Linked DNA regions of Homo sapiens: regions 1, 2, 3, 5, 6 and 7 are each linked to region 4. The links are contacts of gene promoters, found by promoter capture Hi-C in blood cells and fetal thymus (Javierre and others, 2016). All regions are on one chromosome and are shown on one strand. Each heading gives the region's core, a stretch centred on a gene start or on the middle of the fragment in contact. The rest is flanking DNA. Distances are from core to core; before and after follow the strand shown.

The links. Contacts are between HindIII fragments. The CHiCAGO score rates a contact against its expected background, and 5 or more counts as called.
Region 1: a fragment that was not itself captured here is called in contact with the fragment with the promoter of BRPF1 in region 4 in 1 of 17 cell types (monocytes); the score reaches 5.4 in monocytes.
Region 2: a contact is called between a fragment that was not itself captured here and the fragment with the promoter of BRPF1 in region 4, in 2 of 17 cell types (monocytes and neutrophils). The highest score is 8.1, in monocytes.
Region 3: a contact is called between a fragment that was not itself captured here and the fragment with the promoter of BRPF1 in region 4, in 6 of 17 cell types (naive CD8 T cells, naive CD4 T cells, total B cells and 3 more). The highest score is 5.7, in naive CD8 T cells.
Region 5: a fragment that was not itself captured here is called in contact with the fragment with the promoter of BRPF1 in region 4 in 4 of 17 cell types (naive B cells, monocytes, total CD8 T cells and 1 more); the score reaches 6.4 in naive B cells.
Region 6: the fragment with the promoter of IRAK2 here is called in contact with the fragment with the promoter of BRPF1 in region 4 in 1 of 17 cell types (monocytes); the score reaches 6.2 in monocytes.
Region 7: a fragment that was not itself captured here is called in contact with the fragment with the promoter of BRPF1 in region 4 in 9 of 17 cell types (fetal thymus, total CD8 T cells, naive CD4 T cells and 6 more); the score reaches 10.4 in fetal thymus.

Annotation. Positions count from the first base shown.
Region 1 is chr3:10,205,407-10,208,741 of GRCh38, reverse strand. All of the region lies in intron 3 of IRAK2 (interleukin 1 receptor associated kinase 2), which reads right to left. Among named protein-coding and RNA genes, the nearest start is that of TATDN2, 41 kb to the left of the region's middle. The HindIII fragment of the contact is 5,031 bases long and covers 1-3,335 here.
Region 2 is chr3:10,147,027-10,150,132 of GRCh38, reverse strand. It overlaps VHL (von Hippel-Lindau tumor suppressor), which reads right to left. Exons shown (of 3, transcript NM_000551.4): 3 at 1-346. The coding sequence ends at 168. Among named protein-coding and RNA genes, the nearest start is that of VHL, 6.8 kb to the right of the region's middle. The HindIII fragment of the contact is 5,547 bases long and covers 1-3,106 here.
Region 3 is chr3:9,380,126-9,383,197 of GRCh38, reverse strand. It overlaps THUMPD3 (THUMP domain 3 tRNA guanosine methyltransferase), which reads right to left. Exons shown (of 10, transcript NM_001114092.2): 7 at 2,580-2,695. Among named protein-coding and RNA genes, the nearest start is that of THUMPD3-AS1, 15 kb to the left of the region's middle. The HindIII fragment of the contact is 6,287 bases long and covers 1-3,072 here.
Region 4 is chr3:9,730,431-9,733,467 of GRCh38, reverse strand. BRPF1 (bromodomain and PHD finger containing 1) reads right to left here and starts at 1,733. Exons shown (of 14, transcript NM_001003694.2): 1 at 1,330-1,733. RefSeq lists enhancers at 618-1,177, 1,738-2,297 and silencers at 1,255-1,384, 1,395-1,444, 1,915-2,274. The HindIII fragment of the contact is 5,381 bases long and covers 1-2,904 here.
Region 5 is chr3:10,189,083-10,192,440 of GRCh38, reverse strand. All of the region lies in intron 2 of IRAK2 (interleukin 1 receptor associated kinase 2), which reads right to left. Among named protein-coding and RNA genes, the nearest start is that of IRAK2, 26 kb to the right of the region's middle. RefSeq lists enhancers at 1-259, 2,759-2,838. The HindIII fragment of the contact is 8,152 bases long and covers 1-3,358 here.
Region 6 is chr3:10,163,528-10,166,621 of GRCh38, reverse strand. IRAK2 (interleukin 1 receptor associated kinase 2) reads right to left here and starts at 1,703. Exons shown (of 13, transcript NM_001570.4): 1 at 1,574-1,703. The coding sequence starts at 1,667. RefSeq lists silencers at 1,389-1,538, 1,739-1,868. The HindIII fragment of the contact is 5,632 bases long and covers 1-3,094 here.
Region 7 is chr3:9,363,544-9,366,552 of GRCh38, reverse strand. THUMPD3 (THUMP domain 3 tRNA guanosine methyltransferase) reads right to left here. Exons shown (of 10, transcript NM_001114092.2): 2 at 1,233-1,537. The coding sequence starts at 1,484. Among named protein-coding and RNA genes, the nearest start is that of THUMPD3, 2.0 kb to the right of the region's middle. The HindIII fragment of the contact is 3,227 bases long and covers 1-2,910 here.

The sequences.
Region 1 (3,335 bases), core at 179-2,678, 480 kb before region 4:
GCCCAGGCTGGAGTGCAGTGGCACAATCTCGGCTCACTGCAAGCTCCGCCTCCCGGGTTCACACCATTCTCCTGCCTCAGCCTCCCGAGTAGCTGGGACTACAGGCGCCCGCCACCACACCCAGCTAATTTTTTGTATTTTTAGTAGAGATGGGGTTTCACTGTGTTAGCCAGGATGGTCTCGATCTCCTGAACTCGTGATCTGCCCACCTTGGCTTCCCAAAGTGCTGGGATTACAGGCATGAGCCACTGCGCTCAGTCCTACAAAAGATTTTTTTTTAATAGCCAGGTATGGTGGTGTACACCTGTGGTCCCCTCTACTTGGGAGGATGAGGATCACTTGTGCCCAGGAGGTCAAGGCTATATTGAGCCATGATCACACCACTGCACTCTAGCCTAGGAGGCAGAATGAGACCCTGTCTCAAAAAAAATCCTTCCCGTGCGTTAACTCATCTAATCCTCATGCCAATCAGGAAATAAGGTACCACTGCACCATTTTCATTGCCTCTTTGCAGATGGTGAAATGAGGCATGGAGAAGTTAAGTCACTTTTCCAAGGGCCTTGGCCTTTGGCCAAGGCCTGCTTCTGTGCGGACCAGCCACCATGGCCCACCTCACCCACAGTCTGTGCCTGCGCCCACCGAGGAGCCCCCCTACCAGACGGCCTCATTAGTCTTCAGATTAATCTTCACATGGGGCACACAGTCATCAGTGGTTCCAGTGTCTATGTTCTTTTTTTTTTTTTTTTTTTGGAAACAGAGTCTCACTCTGTCACCCAGGCTGGAGTGCAGTGGCACAATCTCAGCTCACTGCAAACTCCCCCTCCCAGGTTCAAGCGATTCTCCTGCCTCAGCCTACGAAGTAGCTGGGACTATAGGCGTGCGCCATGATGCCGGCTAATTTTTGTATTTTTATTAGAGATGGGGTTTCACCATGTTGGCCAGGCTGGTTTTGAACTCCTGACCTCAAGTGATCCACTTGCCTCGGCCTCCCAAAGTGCTGGGATTATAGGCGTGAGCCACCATGCTTGGCCATGTCTATGCCCCAATCCCTTAGTGAGTGAACAAGATTCACAAGACGGAATGTTTGACAAGTAGTTTAGGGTCACTTAAACGTGAGGTTAAAGAGGGTGAAATTTCTTCACTAGGCCCCATGTGAAGATTAATCTGAAGACTAATGAGGCCATCTGGTAGGGGGGCTCCTCGGTGGGCGCAGGCACAGACCGTGGGTGAGGTGAGCCATGGTGGCTGGTCCGCACAGAAGCAGGCCTTGGCCAAAGGCCAGAGGCTTCAAACATCATCATCTGGAAATACCTAGGAAGCCCCATGGCAAGGACAGCTTCTGAGTAACTGGGGACCTGACCCTTCCAAAGGAAACTGGACTTGACCCCAAGATTACTGGATAAATCTACCTGCTTCAGGTATTTGTGGCTTACAACATCAGGAAAGGAATGACTCATCTGGAACTTTGGCTATTAAAAAATTTATTTTGGCCTGGGCACAGTGGCTCAGGCTTGTAATCCCAGCACTTTGGGAGGCCGAGGCAGGTGGATCACCTGAGGTTAAGAGTTTAAGACCATGAGCCAAGATTGTGCCACTGCACTCCAGCCTGGGTGACAGAGTGAGACTCCACTTCAAAACAAACAAACAAAAAAACAAACAAAAAGAGTTTAAGACCAGCCTGGCCAACATGGTAAAACCCCATCTCTACAAAAATACAAAAATTAGCCTGGCATGATGGCGAGTGCCTGTAATCCCAGCTACTTGGGAGGCTAAGGCAGGAGAATTGCTTGAACCAGGGAGGCAAAGGTTGCCGTGAGCTGAGCTGTGCCACTGCACTCCAGCCTGGGGGACAGAGCGAGACTGTATCAAAAAAAAAAAATTTGTTTTGGCCAGCACAGTGGCTCACACCTGTAATCCCAGCGCTTTGGGAGGCTGAGGCAGGTGGATCACCTGAGGTCAGGAGTTCGAGACCAGTCTGGTCAACATGGTGAAACCCTGTCTCTACTAAAAATACAAAAATTAGCCGGGCATGGTGGCACATGCCTGTAGGCCCAGCTACTCAGGAGGCTGAGGCACAAGAATCGCTTAAACCTGGGAGGCAGAGGTTGCAGTGAGCCAAGATCATACCACTGCACTCCAACCTGGGCAACAGAGCGAGACTCAGTCTCAAAAAACAAAAAACAAAAAATTTTATTTCACGAGACTGAAAGTAAAATCAGCCTGGCTAAACAATTAACCCACACAGATAGCTGATAACATGAAATCACCTGAGACAAGGTCTGGAGCCTGTCAAGGGGCTGCCCTCAGCCTCATTCCTGGGATCTTTGCCCTGCTGCTGTGTGAATCTAGCAGCCAGGAGAATGCGAGCTGGAGACCCCCAGCTGCTGGGAGCCTGGCTATCTGCGGGCCTGGCTGTGGCTGGCTCCAATCAATCCCTGCATCTGCATCCGGACCATGCTTCCCAGGGGCTGTTCCCCAGGCACTGTGTGCAGAGGGTACACTAGGCAGATAGGACTGTGATGGCCAACGGACACCCTGGAGAGTCTGCCTTAGACCGAAGGCAGGCCAGCAAGTGCCCACCCAGCCTTCCTCGGAAATGGCGCACCATGGTCCCAAGGCTCTCCCAGCCTTGCCCAGCTCCCTCTGCATTTTCTTGCAAGTATTTGTCCTAATGAAATCCTATCTTGTTGATGAAATCCTATCCTGTCTTGGTATCTGCCTCTCACCAAGGACCTGGACTAATGGAGGCCTCTGCTGGCCAGCACAGGGCCCCCGTCCTGCAGAAAGGCTGCTCTGTGATGGCCACTTCCACCCTTGCCCTGCCTTCTCTTGGCCTCAGCTCAGTACCCTTGGCCCGCATCCCTCAGACTGCAGTTATGTTCATCCGGTCTCCAAGTTTTTGGCCATGTCTGTGCCACCTCACTATGAGTCACCTGACGGTTTTCTTTCAACCAACTTTAATTCCAGTGTTATGTATTCAGCCTTGTGTTAAACAGTAATATCCATGAAGTCCCTAGTTCTTCTACACATGATCTATATTTGTGCTAACACCCAGGTTCTGTGTACCACTGCAGGTGTGGGCCCCACACTGGGAACCGCTGCTCCAGACTAACTTGAGTTCCATCCTGCTGCCAGGCCTGGCCACAGGGCAGGGCTGTCTCTGCACACAGGGTCCTTCTGTGCCCAGTAAATCTGAGGTCAGAGCTTGCCTCACACAAGTCATGAGTTTCCTATCTGACTTAATGCCTGGGGTTTGCTCAGGAGGCTCCCCCAGGCCTCTCAGTTTGGGGGAATCCCTGAGGCCTGCTCCTGCGACACATGAGGGCTATTAGTTG
Region 2 (3,106 bases), core at 1-2,500, 420 kb before region 4:
ACAATGCCTAGTGAAGTCAGTTAACTTTCTTTTAAGCAATGGTGCCTATTTTACTCTGAGAATGAGACACTTTGAAACTAAGGAAGGAACCAGTCCTGTATCTAGATCAAGACTCATCAGTACCATCAAAAGCTGAGATGAAACAGTGTAAGTTTCAACAGAAATCTTCAATCTCCCATCCGTTGATGTGCAATGCGCTCCTGTGTCAGCCGCTCCAGGTCTTTCTGCACATTTGGGTGGTCTTCCAGATCTTCGTAGAGCGACCTGACGATGTCCAGTCTCCTGTAATTCTCAGGCTTGACTAGGCTCCGGACAACCTGGAGGCATCGCTCTTTCAGAGTATACACTGGAAGGGCAAAAACCAAATCCTCAGTGGCAGACTAGGGTCTCAGTACAAGGAACGAACAAGAGGCTTTGCCAACAACTACCTGTACTACTGATGGATCTCACTTTAGGTTAAAGAAAAAAAGTGAGTGCATGTATGTGGCAGTGTGTTATGCTGATGGCCCCCTATGGACACCTCATGGTGTTCATGCCTCTGTAGTAATTTCACCTTGAAATGGGCTGGGCTTGTGATTGCTTTAACTAACTGAATGTGGATGAAGCGACACTGGCAATTCTAGGCCGAAGCCTTAAAAAGGCCTGCTGACTTCTGCTTTTATACTTTTGAAAGCCCTGAGCTACCCTGCTAGAGAGACCACATAAAGAGGAACAGGCCCTGGCCAGGCATGGTGGTTCATGCCTGTGATCCCAACACTTTGGGAGGCCAACGTCAGTAGATCGCCTGAGCTCAGGAGTTCGAGACCAGCCTGGCAACATGGCGAAACCCCGTCTCTACAAAATACACAAAAAATTAGCCAGGCATGGTGGCACATGCCTGTGGTCCCAGCGACTGGGGAGGCTGAGGTGGGAGGATCACTTGAGCCCTGGAGGCAGAGGTTGCAGTGAGCTAAGATCATGCCACTGCACTCCAACCTGGGTGACAGAGTGAGACCCTATCTTGAAAAAAAAGAAAAAAGAAAAGAGAAAAAAAAAAAAGAGGGACAGGCCCAGCCCCCAGCTGCCAGCAAAAGGCAGCCACACCAACGACTACCACCAGCAGAGTAACTGCCTAGCTGAGCCCAGCCTGGACTACAGAATTATGAACAAATAAAATGGTGGGCTGGGCGCAGTGGCTCACGCCTGTAATCCTAGCACTTTAGGAGGCTGAGGCAGGCAGACTGCCTGAGCTCAAGAGTTCAAGATCAGCCTGGTCAACATGGTGAAACCCCCGTCTCCACTAAAATGCAAAAAATTAGCCAGGCTTGGTGGTGCACACCTGTAGTCCCAGCTGCTGAAGCAGGAGAATCGCTTGAACCCGAGAGGCAGAGGTTGCAGTGAGCCAAGATCACACGCCACTGCACTCCAGCCTGGGTGACACAGTGAGACTCTGTCTCAAAAAAAAAAAAAAGGTGGTTATTAGTTTTGGGGTGGTAGTCACAAAACACATAACCAAAACAATGTGTACTTAGAAAATCTAGGCCGGGCGCGGTGGCTCACGCCTGTAATCCCAGCACTTTGGGAGGCCGAGGCGGGCGGATCACGAGGTCAGGAGATCGAGACCATCCCGGCTAAAACGGTGAAACCCCGTCTCTACTAAAAATACAAAAAATTAGCCGGGCGTAGTGGCGGGCGCCTGTAGTCCCAGCTACTTGGGAGGCTGAGGCAGGAGAATGGCGTGAACCCGGGAGGCGGAGCTTGCAGTGAGCCGAGATCCCGCCACTGCACTCCAGCCTGGGCGACAGAGCGAGACTCCGTCTCAAAAAAAAAAAAAAAAAGAAAATCTAGTACAACTGAATTGGGTATCCCAATTCCTATTTTACACTCACTGGAAACGTACTCGAGGGTATTCTATAAGGCAAATTTACCAAATTTAACTTAGCAATGCTCATTTTTATATATCTACTTCCTTAAAACAGGATCTATACACACATAGTAGTTTGAATCCTATGAAACCCATGTATTTGGGGGGTTTTTGAGTTTTTTTTTTCTTTTTTTGAGACAGGATCTCACTCTGTCACCTGGGCTGGAGTGCAGTGGTATGATCATGGCTCACTGCAGCCTCAAACTCCTGGGCTCAAGGGATCCTCCCACCTAAGCCTCCCAAATAGCTGTGACCACAGGCATATGCTAAGATGCCCAGGTAATTAAAAAAAAATTTTTTTGTGGAGCTGGGGTCTCACTTTGTTGTCCAGGCTGGTCAAGAACTCCTGGTCTCAAGCGACCCTCCCGCCATAGCCTCCCTAAGTGCTGGAATTACAGGCATGATTACAGGCAGGAGCCACCACACACTGCTGGTCTTTAGTGAGGTTTTTTTTACCCACAGGAACATCAGTTTATTAGGGTTTACCCTGATAAAATCATTTGAGCTTCAAACAAATAGTGAAGTATTATACCAATCTTCAATGATTTAAAAAAAAAAAAAAACAGGCTGGACGCAGTGGCTCACGCCTGTAATCCCAGCACTTTGGGAGGCTGAGGTGGGCAGATCACCTGAGGTCAGGAGTTCAAGATCAGCCTGGCCAACATGGTGAAACCTCATCTCTACTAAAAATACAAAAATTAGCCAGGTGTGGTGACAGGCACCTATAACCCCAGCTACCCAGGAGGCTGAGGCAGGAGAATCACTTGAACCCAGGATGCAGAGGTTGCAGTGAGCTGAAATCGCACCACTGCACTCCAGCCTGGATGACACTGTGAGACTCTCTAAAAATAAAAATAAAAAAAAAAAAAACACCTCTGATTGGCACTGTGAGCTTGATTGTGTTAAATTGAAAATACATAGGCCAGGTGCTGTGGCTGATGCCTGTAATCCCAGCACTTTGGGAGGCGTAGGCGGGCAGATCATGAGGTCAGGAGATGGAGACCATCCTGGCTAACACGGTGAAACCCCGTCTCTACTAAAAATACAAAAAATTATCAGAGTGGGTGGCACACGCCTGTAGTCCCAGCTACTCGGGAGGCTGAGACAAGAGAATCACTGGAACCCAGTAGGCGGAGGTTGCAGTGAGCCGAGATTGCGCCACTGCACTCCAGCCTAGCTAACACAGCGAGATTCTGTCTCAAA
Region 3 (3,072 bases), core at 468-2,967, 350 kb after region 4:
TGTGGGGACAAAGGAAAGGTGCTTCAACATACTGTGAAGCATAAAGTTATTACAACAATTTTTGTTTCTGAAGAGAGACTGCTACAGCAAAACATAAACTGCTAAGGATATCAGTGATAATATCAACCTATTCAAAATTTAAGAAATGGCACAAAGGTAAAAAATAGGTCAGGCTGGGCATGGTAGCTTGTGCCTATAATCAGCACTTTCAGGGGCTGAGGTGGGAGGATCACTGGACTCCAGGAATTTGAGACCAGCTGAGCAACACTGTGAGACCTTGTCTCTAAAATACTTTTTTAAGAAGTTAGCAGGGCATGATGGCACACACCTATAGTCCCAGCTACTCAGGAGGCTGAGGTGGGAGGATCACTTGAGTCCAGGAGTTGAAAGATGCAGTGAGCTAGGATTGTGCCGCTTTACTCCAGCCTGGGTGACAGAGCAAGACCCCCGTCTCAGAAAAAAGGGAAACAAACTGAAAACATGATTGTAATGCAGAGAACTGCAAAAGACAACTTTAAAAACAATGCTGAAGCAGTAAATTACATAACCGATGATACAAAAATTTAAGTTGCTGATAAAACATACACTGGAGAAAAACAATACTAAAGAATAGATAATGGGGTGATGTATCTGAAGAATAAAGTTTGTAAAACTAGTAATAACAGGAGGCCTAAAAGAAAAACAGATAGTAAAATTGGCAAATATATAGGTAATTGTTTCAAGATGAAAAACCAAAAGGAAAATATGTGCCATGCTATATAAAACAAGACTAAGAAAAAAGTTAAGATAAAAAATATAGATGACAGAAGACAGAATGAATAATAATAAATACAAAGGATTTAAATCCTCCTCATTAAGGCAAAGCAACTGGTTTAAGAAACAAAATAATGCACAGGCTAAGAACTGAAGATAAGTCAAAGGTTATCAGCAGAAATTAAGGATTTAATTGACATTTAATGAAGAATTTAAGAAAAAAATGCAATAAAAGCAATCATTACATAATTTTTAAAAGTACACATAAAATATGTATTATAACCGCATACCAATAACTGCACAAAACAAAAGGCAAAAAATATTAAAAACCAAAGTAAAATGGATAGAAATGTACAGGTTGAGGCCGGGCACAGTGGCTCATGCCTGTAATCCCAGCACTTTGGGAGGCCAAGGTGGGCAGATCATGAGGTCAGGAGATTGAGACCATCCTGGCTAACATGGTGAAAACCCGTCTCTACTAAAAATACAAAAAAAAAATAAGCCGGGCATGGTGGCGGGTGCCTGTAGTCCCAGCTACTTGGGAGGCTGAGGCAGGAGAATGGCGTGAACCCGGGAGGCGGAGCTTGCAGTGAGCCGAGATCAAGCCACTGCACTCCAGCCTGGGCGACAGAGTGAGACTCCGTCTCAAAAAAAAAAAAAAAAAAAAAAAAAAAAAAAAAAAAAAAAAGTACGGGTTGAACAGACAGTGTAGGTACAAACAAGATAAAATATTCAGAAGCTAGAAAGGTACGTTTGTTTAAATGTTTATCAGTTTTAATTAAAAAAAAAAAAGACTGGCCATATACTAGGCTCATTAAAAAAAACCCTCAATAAATATGAAACAACCATTCAAAATTAATTCATCACAATAAATCAGTATTTAAGAAAATTGAAGCCTTCCAACTACTTGTCTTAATACACGTAAAAGGATTTAATGTTGATACATAGACCAGCAGCATCAGCATTGTCCTGGAGTTTCCTGGAAAATGCAGACTCTTAGGTCCCATCCCAAACTACTAAATCAGATCTGTGTTAACAGTACTCCTAGGTGATTCACATGTACATTAATGTTTGAGAAGCACTGTCCTAAAAAATTAGATCAGAGAGACAATGAAATATATAACCAATGACTTAGTAATAAAATAGAGGCGAGGCTATATAAACTGCAGTATTTCTATACGATGGAATTTATGTAGTGACTTTAAAGACTATGGTCCAGGTGTGGTGACTCGTCTCTAATCCCAGCAATTTGGAAGGCTGAAGCGGCAGAATCTCTTGAGGCCAGGAGTTTGACACCAGCCTGGACAAAACAGCAAGACCCCCATCTCTACGAAGATTTTAAAAAATTAGCTGGGCATGGTGGCACATGCCTGTATTCCTAGCTACTAGGGAGGCCAAGGCAGGAGGATTGCTTGAGCTCAGTAGGTTGAGGCTACAGTGAGCCATGATCATGTCACTGCACTCCAGCCTGGGTGACAAAATGAGACCCTGTACCCAAAGCAAAAAAGAAGCCTATGTAAAAATATACTGTTTAAAATTTTGTGAAATTAAAATGAGTCTATAAAATATTCTTCCAATATGTAGGGGAAAAGACATATGAATAAGACAAATGAAAAATTGCATATGGTGGGGAAATTATCGCTAAAATAATATTTTAAAAATATAACTTATTTTCAATAAACTTTAAAAATGTAAATGGAGTCTCATAGTATATTCATTTTGGTTACAATGACGTCACAATGCACTGGGAGTTTTAATTCATAAAGTCAATATAAAAAGTGATTCTCTAACTCTAAAAGATGCTAAGAAATCTTTTAAATTTTTACCCTTCTTTAATTTGGCTCTTGGTCAATAAAGATGCAATGTTATTTGCTGCTCTATTCACAGCCAGTGGATTATTATCACCAGCAATATGGAAACAGTCAGACCATTCAGTGGCCCCCTAAAAGATAAGAGTGTATGTTAAAACAAAAGTAGCAAACTGTAAAATATGATTAAATTGTCAACAAACAAAGAAAATCCAGTGCTTTTCTAGAGTGGCAAAACATTGCATGTTGTCAACTGTGCTATTTCCCTGGCTGAAAATGCCCTCTTATTCTTTCTCTGCTTGCTGAACCTCTACCCATCTCTTAAGACCCAGCTCAAACCTCATGCCCTTTCAACATCAACCTTAACTCTCCAAGCAGTCTTATGTGCCCCTCCCAAAAACACTTTGTATGTACGTACCTCTGCCACTGCACTTGTCCCACGGTTAATTATTTCTTCCCCTTTATGCCTCTCAACTAACCTGGGAGCTCTCTGAGGTCAGGTCTAGTATTT
Region 4 (3,037 bases), core at 484-2,983:
GGAGCTGTGTAGCAAGGGTACCAGAGCCTATCCACCTCTGTATCCCCAGTACCTAGCATGCACTGGACATTCAGTTTTTGGCGAACGAATGAATGACCTGTTGAACGAATAGCTGAATGAGGGGATCACCAGACTGAGAGCTCAGATGGGATGAAGGCCATGTAGAAAGCTGAATGGGTGGGTGGCTAATGCTTTAGCGTTGGACTCCTGCAGAAATCACTGGATCACAGAAAGAATTCATTTACTTTTGAGGTCTTTATGGGGAGCCTGGCCCTGGTACTGGGTAGGAGATGTACTGTGAAACAAAGTGAAAACTGAGGTCATTTAGTCAGTGACAGCAGCTTGTATTACATTTGAGCTGTTCACCCACTCACACATCAACTGAGTGACTACCAAGTGCCAGGCCCTAAGGGTACAAACACGAACGCGACAATCTAGGCATGCTCAGCTCCATGCTGGTCCGCAGGGGCCCTCCCTCCCCGCTCCCCAACATTCCTGGGTGAGTGTAGACAGCAGATGGCACCAGGCCTCAGGAAGCCCAGCTTGGTCAGAGACTGCCCCAATTTCTCTCGGCCTAGTTGAGTTCAACCATTCAGCTAGGGGCTTGGCACCATCCCAGCCAGGCAGGGCTATCATGAGCTCCCTGACAAAATAACCCCTCTTGGCCTCTCCACCTGTGCCTTAACCAGGCAAGTGGGCTGCTCCAGCTCCACTGTCAACGGCTCCTGATTTTCACATCAGTAACGCTACACGTCCAACTGCAACTCTTCTATTTCCTACCTGCGGCTGTGTCTTTAAACATAAACCAACCGAAGCACAAACAAGCTCTCCTCTTTCCAAGCTGGGTCCCGGGTGAATGGTTCCCAAAGTAGCACAGCGAATCAGCAATCTCCCCTTGGAACCCGGCAGCAGAGGCACAGGCGAGGGAGACGAGAACTTAGACCAGAAAGCCCGTGGGGAGGGCCCAAGGAGAATGGCGGCTGCATCTGCCCCTGAAGCTCAGGGGGCTGGAGGAAGTAAGGGGCGGGGGCCGGAGGGATAGGGCTGGGCCCCGGCAGTGCCCGCAGCCCACTCTCCGGATGCGGCGGCGTTTCCCCTTTGTGGAAGTGTAACAAGTGAAACAAGGCTCCCCGCCTGCCACTAGCCCGGGCAGCCCCGAAAGATACACTGTTGCCCCAGGATGCCTGCTGGGAAGCAATGCACTGTCAGTTCTCCCAACTGGAGTTGCCAGAGAGGTTCCCGGGCCACGCGGCTCAGTGCGCGTCCCACGAACGTAGCCTACCCCTTCCCTGCCGGCCACTCCCGCCCTGGTCCCAGGCCCGCACTCACCGGCCACCTCGAGTCCGGGCTCATCGCCGGGGGCGCCCGCCGGGGCTCCGACCCCACTTGGGGAGGTCGGCGGGGAAAGTCGGGCCGGGAAGGGGGAGCCCCAACTCCGGAGACCGTAGACCTCGCCACCCCGGCCCCCTGCCGCCCCACGCTTTGGTCCCGGCTCCCCGGGATTCCTGAGCTGACCCCTGCCGCTCCTGGTCCCGCCGGCGCCCTGGGGTCTCAACTCCGTCGGCCGCCGCCCGTTTCGCGAGCCCCCAAGATGCCCGGTCTCGGGACCGGGCGCTGCTGGAACAATGGAGGCTCCCAGAGGCAGCGCGAGGACAGCGGCGGCGGAGACCGTGGCGGCAAAGGCTGTGGCAGCGGCGGCGGCAGCAGCGGCGGCGACGGCGTCTGCGCAGGGTAAACGTGGCGCCGCGGCGCTACTGAGCTGCACTTTCGCCACGGATCCCCGCCCGCCCGCTGAGGCTCGAAAGACCGTGCTCCGGGATTCAGAAAGGACCCTGGACACCCCACAGGGCTTCTCTAGCTCTCCCATCTTAGAGTGGAGTTTCTGGAGACTGAAGTCACCGTACTCGGGATCTGGGGTCGTCGGGCGGTTTGTGGCGAATCTGCAACCACGGACGGTGAGCGCGGGGCTGGGCGTGAGGAGCCCGCCCTTCTCCCCTCCCCCTCTGCCTCCTCCCTATCCGCTCCCTGCCTCCTGCTGGCGCCGCGGCTGCGGGAGGGACCTGGCCTTGGTCTCGGAGGAAGGCGGTGAGGCGGGGCCAGAGTCACGGGGCGGGGCTGGGGGCAGGGCCGGGAGCAAGAGGGATGCGGGCTGGAGCCTAAGGGACCGGTAGTTATGGGTAGGACCGGGGCGGGGCTGGAGACTAGACCGGTCTGTGGGGCGGGGCTTGTGGGAGGGGGCGGGGCTACCGCACAGCGGGGGCCTGTTAGAATAGCGGGGTAAAAAGTGGGGCTAAACAGAAGAAGAGTACTCGCGAGAGAAAGGGCGGAGCTTTGGATGAGCCTGGAAAGTGGAGCTGGACTAGAAATAAAGAACAAAGTTGGAAAAAGCGATGCGACGCTGAAGGGAGCAGGCGGGGCTTGGTAAGGCAGGGGCGGAGCTGTGGGGAAAGGGCAGGACCGATTAGGGATAACGGGGCGTGACTGAAGGAAAGGGAAGAAACTTGGGAAAAGTAAAGGAGAGGTGCTAGAGAAAAGGTATGGGTCTGAGAGAAGGGGCTGGTTTGGGGCCGGTGGGTGTGAAAGGGCTTGTCTGGTAAAGCGGTGGGAAATCTGTGGGTTGGCAGGGATGTGCTGCGGGTTGCTGATTGGAACATGGTGCCAAAACAGCTGATTTAATGTGAGTGGGTCACCTCCTAGCAATGTGAACGTGGGCAAGTTCAGTTCTTTAAGTTCCTTATTTGTAAAACAGAGCTCGAAAACTCTGTTGTTAGTTCTTGAGGGTTTCAGAGAACTTGCATGGCAGGGGGAGACATCCTTAAACAATACTTCTCCAGTTTTGTCATCAAAGAGGAGCGTGAAAGGTCTTCCAGGGTTCTGGGACAAAGCCCAAAGCATCTGAAAGCTTCTATCTTCTTAATGCAAACTTTGCATTTGACCCAATAAAATGTATGTTTTCTAAAAACCATCCCAATAAAATCGACATGCCAGGAAGAGGTTTGCTGATTAAGATCTTGGGATCTGAAGTCAAACTGATGAA
Region 5 (3,358 bases), core at 770-3,269, 460 kb before region 4:
CTGGGCCTTTGGCTGACGGGGCCTGGGCCGTCACACTAGCTGCCTGAGAACATTTCACACGGTGGCAAATCCAGGAGCTGTTGGAGCAGAGGGGACTCAGAGCTGGCAACAAGGTCTTTCCTGGGTGAGCACACTCTGGAAATTCCCCCCAACCCTTCACGCCCGTCAAACTACACAGTAATTTGTTCTTAGGCTGACTCATGTGGCCAGAATAGATCCCTTCCAGAACAAACAAAAGTGATTCAGCTATAACTAAAGCACCCTCGTGCCAGCTGGCTCTATCAGGGACAAACACAGCTTTCCGCGCCCTCTCTTTTCCTTTCCCTCCTAATCCCTGGGTTTGGCCCTCCAGGCCATACACAGTCACACACAACACACAACACACACACACACACACACACACACACACACACACACTCCCAACTCAAGCTAGACCTGAAATGAGGCAAACCTGAGAGCACAGCCTGCCTTCCTAATTGTGCGATCCCTGGTTCTCCACTGAACTTGTACTCCACCTGCTGCTGAAATGACTCATTCTTTCTCATTCATTCATTCATTCATTTTGTGTTAGGGAATGGGGAATCCTTTATCAAAACTGCCGTAATACTGACATTAAGCTAGTTAAATAAAAGACATCTAATTATAAACTGGGAGGTGCTCTATGCTGAAAACAAACTCGAGGGAGGGGTGCCTGATGGACCTACTTCCATAGGCTGGCCAGGAAAAGCTGCCATGAGAAGGGGCCACATATGCAGACACCCAGAGGATGAAAAGGACTAGCATGGAAGAATGTAGGGAAGCTGGGGAGAGACAGCATTCCAAGGAGAGGGAACACGTGTGCAAAGGTCCTTAGGCAGCAAACACTTGGCATATCCCCGCAAGTGAAGGATGACCGTAGTGGCTGAGGGGAATGACTGAGGGGGAAAGTGGTAGAGGTGAGGTTGAAGAGCCGGGCAAAGGTAGACCATGCAGGGCCTTGTAGGCCACAGTTAGGCAGAACCTTACTGTAAGCGCCCTGGAACTGAGGTAACCTGTAGCTGAGAGAGTACTTACCAAATAACCATCTGCTCTGTCTCATACTCCTGCCTCCTTAGCAATTAGGCTGGGCGTCACGACTGGTTCTAGCCAGTGGATTTTTTTTTTTTTGAGACAGATTCTCGCTCTGTTGCCCAGGCTGGAGTGCAGTGGCGCGATCTCGGCTCACTGCAAGCTCCGCCTCCCGGGTTCAAGCAATTCTCCTGCCTCAGCCTCTTGAGTAGCTGGGACTACAGGCACCCGCCACCACGCCCAGCTAATTTTTTTTTATTTTTAGTAGAGACGGGGTATCACCATGTTAGCCAGGATGGTCTCGATCTCCTGACCTTGTGATCCGCCGGCCTCGGCCTCCCAAAGTGCTGGGATTACAGGCTTGAGCCACCGCGCCCGGCCTAGCCAGTGGATTTTAAGTGAAGATGCTATCTATCACTTCCTGGACGAAGCACTTAACAGCTAGTGAGCCTCTTCCAACCCTCTCTTCCCCAGCCACAGTGACTTTGGAAGCCACATGTTCTAGATGACTTAGCTGGCTACAAGAATGCAGGAGGCTGCATGACCCTTACTGGACTTCAGGTGAGTGGGAAATCAATATTTGTTGCGTTGAGGAACTAGATTTCAAGGTTTATCTGATACCGCAGCATAACCAAGCCTATCCTGGCTAATGCATCATCTGAGTATGTGTCCAAAACTTGCAACTGGAGGAGACTAGTTGTAAGAGCTAAGCATCTAGCAGGAGTTCAATAAAGGATGGTTCACTTCACCCTAGCTCTTACCCTTCCTCTCTGAAACACTGGGGACTGGCTTAGAGGCATTCCACACTCTGTTCATTCTAACACCACTCTCAAGAGACCAACAGTGATTAAAGCCTTGCTTTTTTCCAATGGAATAATGAATGCATGGAAGGAAAAGGTCAAGTGACCTGTCCTTAGCCACTCAGCAATTAACTTTAAGAAAACCTCTAGCTGGGCGTGGTGGTGGGCGCCAGTAGTCCCAGCTACTCGGGAGGCTGAGGCAGGATAATTGCTTGAGTCCACGAGGCAGAGGTTGCAGTGAGCCAAGCTCATGCCACTGCACTTCAGCCTGGACAACAGAGTGAGACTCTGTCTCACAAAAAAAAAAAAAAAAAGAAACAAAGAAAACCTCACCATCTCGTATGCTTTGAACCTTCCCAGTCTACAAGAAAAGTAGATAGGGCAATGTCTTTACCCATTTTCCAGATGGGGCAAGTGATGATGCAATCTAGTAACCTACCAAGAAGCGGGTAAGGTCAGGCAGACCTGAATTCCCATGTTGGCCTCATCACTATGGGCTATGTGGCCTTGGGAAATTACTTAATCTCTGAGCCTCAGTTTCCTCTTCTATAAAATAGGGATAATAAGAGTTGTGAGAAAAGATGCTTACCTGGCACATATCAGGTGCTAAACACAAGCTATTACTAGAACCCAGGTGCTCTGACCCCTGGCCTGTGGTTTTGGCCCAAAACAGTGTCGCCTCCAGTGGCAAGTCTGCAGTGGGCAGGGTCTGGATGTAGGCATGTTCTGTTGTGCCCTAGCAGCTGGAAAGGGGCGGAGGCAGGGCAGCCTTCCAAGAGAGCAGACACACAAGCCCTGTCTGGACCTGGCACAGCCCGGCCCCTTCCGGAGAGGAAGGGTTCATTCTCTTCTGTTTCATTTTACATAGCAGCCCCAAATTTTCCACTCAATGAGAGCCCAGCTCCAGGAAGGAAATGACTCTGGCCGAGATGCCAAACCCAAAGTTAGAAACTGTCAAGAGTTGCACAACCAAGAAGAAACTGCATGAAAATTGTGAAACTCAAGACTTCAGGTAGATAGTAGCAACAGATGGGAAGAGAAAACCTTGGTCACTTCCCAAATCCCTTCGGATTCCTGAAGTGTCTTCCTGTCCTACTCAGTTGACATCTGGAACCTCACAGGCCCAGCCCCCCAGTCCATATAGTGGCCAAAACAGGGGATACTCCCAGGTGGAAGCCCTCCAACGTCTTCCCTTCACTCTCCGGTGAAAGCAAACTCTTGGCGGTAGCCTGCATGGCACTGGGTGGCCTGACCCTGCCCTGTCCCCAGCCTCAGCCCACCCCCAGGCCTTTGTACATGCTGCTCCCCCCGGCTAGATATGTGTGTGTCGTCCTTCACTTCTTGGTCCACTATTCCTTACGGAGGAGGCTCAAGTTTCACTGCCTCAGAGAAACTTCCCCTGATGAGATCAAATCCTCTCATCTTGCACTCTCCTACCTGCCCTCCCCACCTGACCTACATTTATCCTTTGAGCACTCATACTGCAGTGGGTGACATGCATCTGTGTGTTA
Region 6 (3,094 bases), core at 454-2,953, 430 kb before region 4:
TAAGAATATTTAACACTTAGGTGTCAGTGCTTTTATACAGTATTTTCATTCCTCACAACTTTATGAAGAAGCTATAATTATCATCTCCAGTTTACATACAGATTCAGAAGCTGAGGCTCAGAGAGGTTAACAAACTGGCCCAAAGTCATACAGCAAGAGCCTGGAATGCAGATCTCCACCTGGAAAGCAGAGACAACAGGCAAGCGGCCTCCCCGCAGAGTCCATGGCCCTCTCCGCCAGTCATCCGTCAGGCACCAACAAACAAAACATATGGAGGCTGTCTGAGTGCCTTCCCACGGAATTATCTAGAACTGTGCACCTTGCAATAGAGTGAAAGTAAGTGCTTGTGCTTAGGCCCCATTATACACACTGAATCTATTAGGACACATCTGATCTCAAAACAGGTTGATAGTCATAAATACTGTGATCAAAACAATGTACACTAAAAGTAAATATCTGATTTTAAAACTATAATGGTAAAGTACATTTAATCACAAATATGATAAATAGGCTGGGCACAGTGGCTCACGCCTGTAATCCCAGCACTTTGGGAGGCCGAAGCAGGTGGATCGCCTGAGATCAAGAGTTCCGGAGGCCGGGCGCGGTGGCTCATGCCTGTAATCCCAGCACTTTGGGAGGCCCAGGGTGGGCGGATCACAAGGTCAGGAGATCCAGACCATCCTGGCTAACACGGTGAAACCCCGTCTCTACTAAGAATACAAAGTTAGCCGGGCGTGGTGGCGGGCGCCTGTAGTCCCAGCTACTCAGAAGGCTGAGGCAGGAGAATGGCGTGAACCCGGGAGGCGGAGCTTGCAACGAGCCTAGATCGCGCCACTGCACTCCAGCCTGGGCGACAGAGTGAGACTCCGTCTTAAAAAAAAAAAAAAAAAAAAAAAAAAATAGTTCAAGACCAGTCTGGCCAACATGGTGAAACCCGGTCTCTACTGAAAATACAAAAAATTAGCCAGGGTGGTAGCGGGCGCCTGTAATCCCAGCTACTCGGGAGGCCGAGGCAGGAAAATCGCTTGAATCCCAGAGGTGGAGGTTGCAGTGAGCCGAGACCGTGCCATTGCACTCCAGCCTGGGCAACAACAGCGAAACTCCGTTTCAATATATATATATATGTTAAATCATAGATCCTTCTAATATACACTAAAACTAAACACACCACACACACACACACACACACCCCCCCAAGAAGTGACAGCACCGTGGGTCCCTACAGGGTCGAGGCTCGCACTTTGCAGGCTGTTGTGGGCTGGATGAGAGGCCACCTGGGGACGTCACCGAGCCAGCAGCGCTGACAGGAGGGCCCCCGTACCCACCGTTCTCTGGACTCAGAGCGCAGTGGCGGCGGCCCCTGCTCGTCGACAGACGTCCTCAGAGACCACGCGGCACCTTCAGGTGACAGGCCGAGGTCCGCGGCGGACCCGGTCCAGGAGGCTCAGCTCGCACGCCCTCGGATCGGGACCCGCTGAACCCGGGTGCCCGAGGGAGCTTGGCGGCCGCTCCAGGCGGGATCGCTGGGGGCTCCGGTCGCCCTGGTCCCCTCCCCTCCCCGGGCCGCACTCACCGAACTCCATCCAGTCCCACTCGCTGAGCGCGTCCATGTTGCGGCACAGGTCGTCCAGCACCCAGGAGGGCAGCTGGTAGATGTAGCAGGCCATGGCACGCTACGGGGCCGGCTCCGGCGCGGGACGACTGGGTCGGACACTGCGGGCTGCGGCTTCTCTAGCCAGGGGCGGACCGGCGGGGAAGTGGGCGGGGCGGGAGGGCACCAGCGTCCCCAGCGGCCACGGGCGGCACGACGGCCCCGCCGGCTCCACCCCAGCGCCGGCCAGAGAATCGGAACTGCGAGGGGAAACTGAGGCCCTGGTGGGAGAAGGCCACACGGGAATTCTGCCGCAGCGGCAGGAGGCCTTCTGACCCCACTTCCATCGGCACTACACCATGCATCATGCGCTCATCAAATACTCCATTAATTACCTACTGTATGCCAGGCAACTCCCTAGGTGTTGGTAATACCTGAATAAGAAACCCTACAGCCGGGCGCGGTGGATCACTCCTGTAATCCCAGTACTTTGGGAGGCCGAGGCGGACGGATCACGAGGTCAGGAGTTCGAGACTAGCCTGGCCAATATGGTGAAACCCCGTCACTACTAAAAATACAAAAATTAGCCGGGCACGGTGGCGCACGCCTGTAGTCCCAGCTACCTGGGAGGCTGAGGCAGAAGAATCGCTTGAACCCTGGAGGCGGAGGTTGCAGTAAGCCCAGATTGTGCCCTTGTACTCCAGCCTGGGTGAAGAGTGAGGCTCTGTCTCAAAAAAAAAAAAAAAAAAAAAAAAAAGCCTACAAAAGCCCTTGCTTTCATAAGACTTACAATCTAGGTGTGGAGAGAAAGACTAACAATAAATAATAAATATAGTATGTTACAGAGTGTCTTAAAGGTAATAAGCACTATTGCAAAAAAAAAAAAAAAGGAAAAAAAGTTGGTTAAAGGGAATCAGGAATTCAGATTGAGCATGGGGAATATTCTATTAAATAGGGTAGTCAGGTAGACTTTACTATAGTAGCTAATATGTATCGTGCAGCTACTATGTGCCAGGCACTGTTGTAGGTGCTGGGAATACCTCTGAAGAGAAGGACAAAATCCTTGTCCTGGAGGGAGACAGACAACAAGCAATAAAAATAGGCAGATAAGCTATGTTGGAGAATGAAAGTAGAAGCCTGGGCAACATAGGAAGATCTTATCTCTACAAAAAACTTTTTTTTTTTGAGACGGAGTCTTGCTCTGTAGCCCAGGCTGGAGTGCAGTGGCGCAATCTTGGCTCACTGCAGCCTCTGCCTCCCAGGTCCCGGTTCAAGCAATTCTCCTGCCTCAGTCTCCCGAGTAGCTGGGATTACAGGCACGCGCCACCACGCCCAGCTAATTTTTGTATTTTTAGTAGAGACAGGGTTTCACTGTGTTGGCCAGGATGGTCTTGAACTCCTGACCTCGTGATCCGCCTGCCTCGGCCTCCCAAAGTGCTAGGATTACAGGCATGAGCCACCACGCCTGGCCTCTACAAAAAATTTTAAAATGAGCCAAGCATG
Region 7 (3,009 bases), core at 48-2,547, 370 kb after region 4:
AGCTCCAGTTCTGTGATTACTAGCTGAGTGGCCCTGGGGAAATTATTTATGTGTCCTAAGCCTAATGATTAATGAGGATAATAATAGTGCCTATCTTCACAAAGCTGCTGAGGGTATTGGCTAAAATATTGGATGGAAAACATTTGCTTACCAATTCATCCCACAGATATTTTCTGGGTACCTACTATATGCCAGACACTAAGAGCGTGGGATATATTGGTGGAAAAAAAAATAGACAACAATCCTTGCCCTCTCACTGCTTATGTGGTAATGAGATATATCAGCTTTATGATAGTGAGATTGCAGTTTTCTGACCTTCACTTTTTACCTTGAGTGAGTCCTAATTACTTCTGAGCAAGAATTTTTGATGCAAATTAAAAGGAAAATCTCTTTTATGTTTCATCACCAAAGGTTAAACATCTGCTATATGCTGAAGTAAATAAATACTGAGATACTTAGAGAATTTCTTAAGTTGAACAGTATTCTTTCTGGTGAATTCAATCCTCAAGAAATACTAGATCACCTCTAAAAATGTAGCAATCCTACTACAGGTTGAGCAGCCCACATCTAAAAATCTGAAACTTTTTGAGCCCCAACACAATGCTGAAAGGAAATGCTCAGTGCAGCATTTCGGATTTTCAGATTAGAAATGCTCAACTGGCAGGCCGAGCGCAGTGGCTCAGGCCTGTAATCCCAGCACTTTGGGAGGTCGAGGCGGGTGGATCACGGGGTTAGGAGTTCGAGACCAGCCTGGCCAGGATGGTGAAACCCCGTTTCTACTAAATATACAAAAATTAGCCAGATGCGGTGGCGGGCGCCTGTAGTCCCAGCTACTGGGGAGGCTGAGGCAGGAGAATTGCTTGAACCTGGGAGGCGGAGGTTGCAGTGAGCCAAGATCGCGCCATTGCACTCCAGCCTGATGACAGAGCAAGACTCTGTCTCAAAGAAAAAGAAAAAAAAAAGAAATGCTCAACTGGCAAGTATAATGCAAATATTCCAAAACTCCCCCCACCCCCCTCCAAAAATCTGAAACACTTTTGGTCCTAAGGGATACTGAAACTACAGTCAAAATTACAAATCAGTACTCAATAGAAAATGCAGTAACTTTAAAATCACCTGATTTGGGGCAGAGCAATGAAAATCAGAAAGGATTCCAGAAGGGTCTATAAAATGAAAAGTAACCATAAAATGATCAACTTAGAAAACTATTTTAAATATTGCTCCATTCAAACCTGTGCCAGACTTTCCACTGAAATGACAAAATATATCTTGCCACGGTCTCTGCTGATTTTGCATGATGACCCAAGTTTCTCTCTGACTTCATCTGCAGCTGTTTGCTCAAAGCCAGTAGGTACAGTGGCTCCAATAGTGACTAGAAGCTCAGATTCACTTCCGAGGTCACTTTCTGTCACTTGTACAGACTTCTGGTTCTCATGAAGGTTCACATCTAGGAGTTGGTTAGTGGCTTCTTCAATGTCACACATGTTGGCTGTGCTTCCAAGATCCCTAACACTGTCTCTTTAAAAGCAGTACTGTCCTTTAAAAGAAAAAGAAATAAAGCCCAAATATTATCATCTCATATTTCAGTTATAATTAAAAACATGGGCTCTGGAGGGCAGGAAGAACAAGGCAACACATCTGATAAACAGTCACCAAAGTAAAAAGGGTTGAATAAACATGGGCACAGAGTGCAGGCTGTAAAACATGATGTTATTATTAAAGAAGCAATACAGATACCATGGGAGAAAAAGAGACAAGAAGTATTTCCATAGCATGCAATGTTTGCTTTGGGGTAACCCATGTTGACAAAAGCCATTTCATAACTACGACAGAAACTGCAGATCACATTCAAATCCATTTCTGCATCTAGATGTTAAGAACATGGTTAGTTAAGAATATAGGGCTTGGCTGGGCGTGGTGGCTCACACCTGTAATCCCAGCACTTTGGGAGGCCGAGGCGGGCAGATTGCCTGAGGTCAGGAGTTCAAGACCAGCCTGGCCCACATGGTGAAACCCCGTCTCTACTAAAAATACAAACATTAGCCAGGTGTGGTGGTGGGAGCCTGTAATCCCAGCTACTTGGGAGGCTGAGGGAGGAGAATTGCTTGAATCCGGGAGGTGGAGATTGCAGTGAGCTGAGATCATGCCACTGCACTCCGGCTGGGGTAACAGAACAAGACTCTGTCTCAAAAAAATAAATAAATAAATAAAATAAATAATAATAATAATAATAATATGGGGCTTTTGGAGTTTCAGATAGATACAGGTTTGAATTCTTGCCTCCACCATCATAGGTTGAATGACTTATGGCAAATTAATTCTCCCAAACCTTCAAATGTAATTAAGTAATTAGTAATACCTCTTTCCTAGAGTCGTTAGGAGACAAGTGAGAGTAGTACCTGGTTAGGCCAATAATTAAAACTTATTAATAGGCTATCTATCTTCTTCCCTCCTGTGAAATAGCATTTCATGCATTTAAAAATGATTAACTGGGCTGGGCACACTGGCTCATGCCTGTAATCCCAGCACTTTAGGGAGCTGAGGTGAGTAGATTGCTTGAGGCCAAGAGTTCGAGACCAATCTGCGTAAGATGGCAAAATCTCATCTCTACCAAAAACACAAAAAATAGCTGGGCGTGGTGGTGGGCGCCTGGAGTCCAGCTACTTGGGAGGCTGAGGTGGGAGGACTGCACTCCAGCCTGGGTGACACAGTGAGGCCCTGTCTCAAAAAAAAAAAAAAAAAAAAAGAAAAAATTAAAAATAAAAATGGTTAACTGAATACTTACTATCTAATGATTACAAATGTTCAAACGCCTACTACTTGCCAGACTCTGGGATCCATAGATGGGCATCAGGAGAGAGATCTTGGAAGTAATCCGAAATAGTAAAACAAATTTCCTATGCATAAGCTTTTGTGTGTGCTTGGGGTGGGGGCCGGGGGAAGTATTAGAGAGGTGGAGGGGCCATAGCTTACACGAGATTTTCAAAAGGTCTGTGACTCAAAATAACT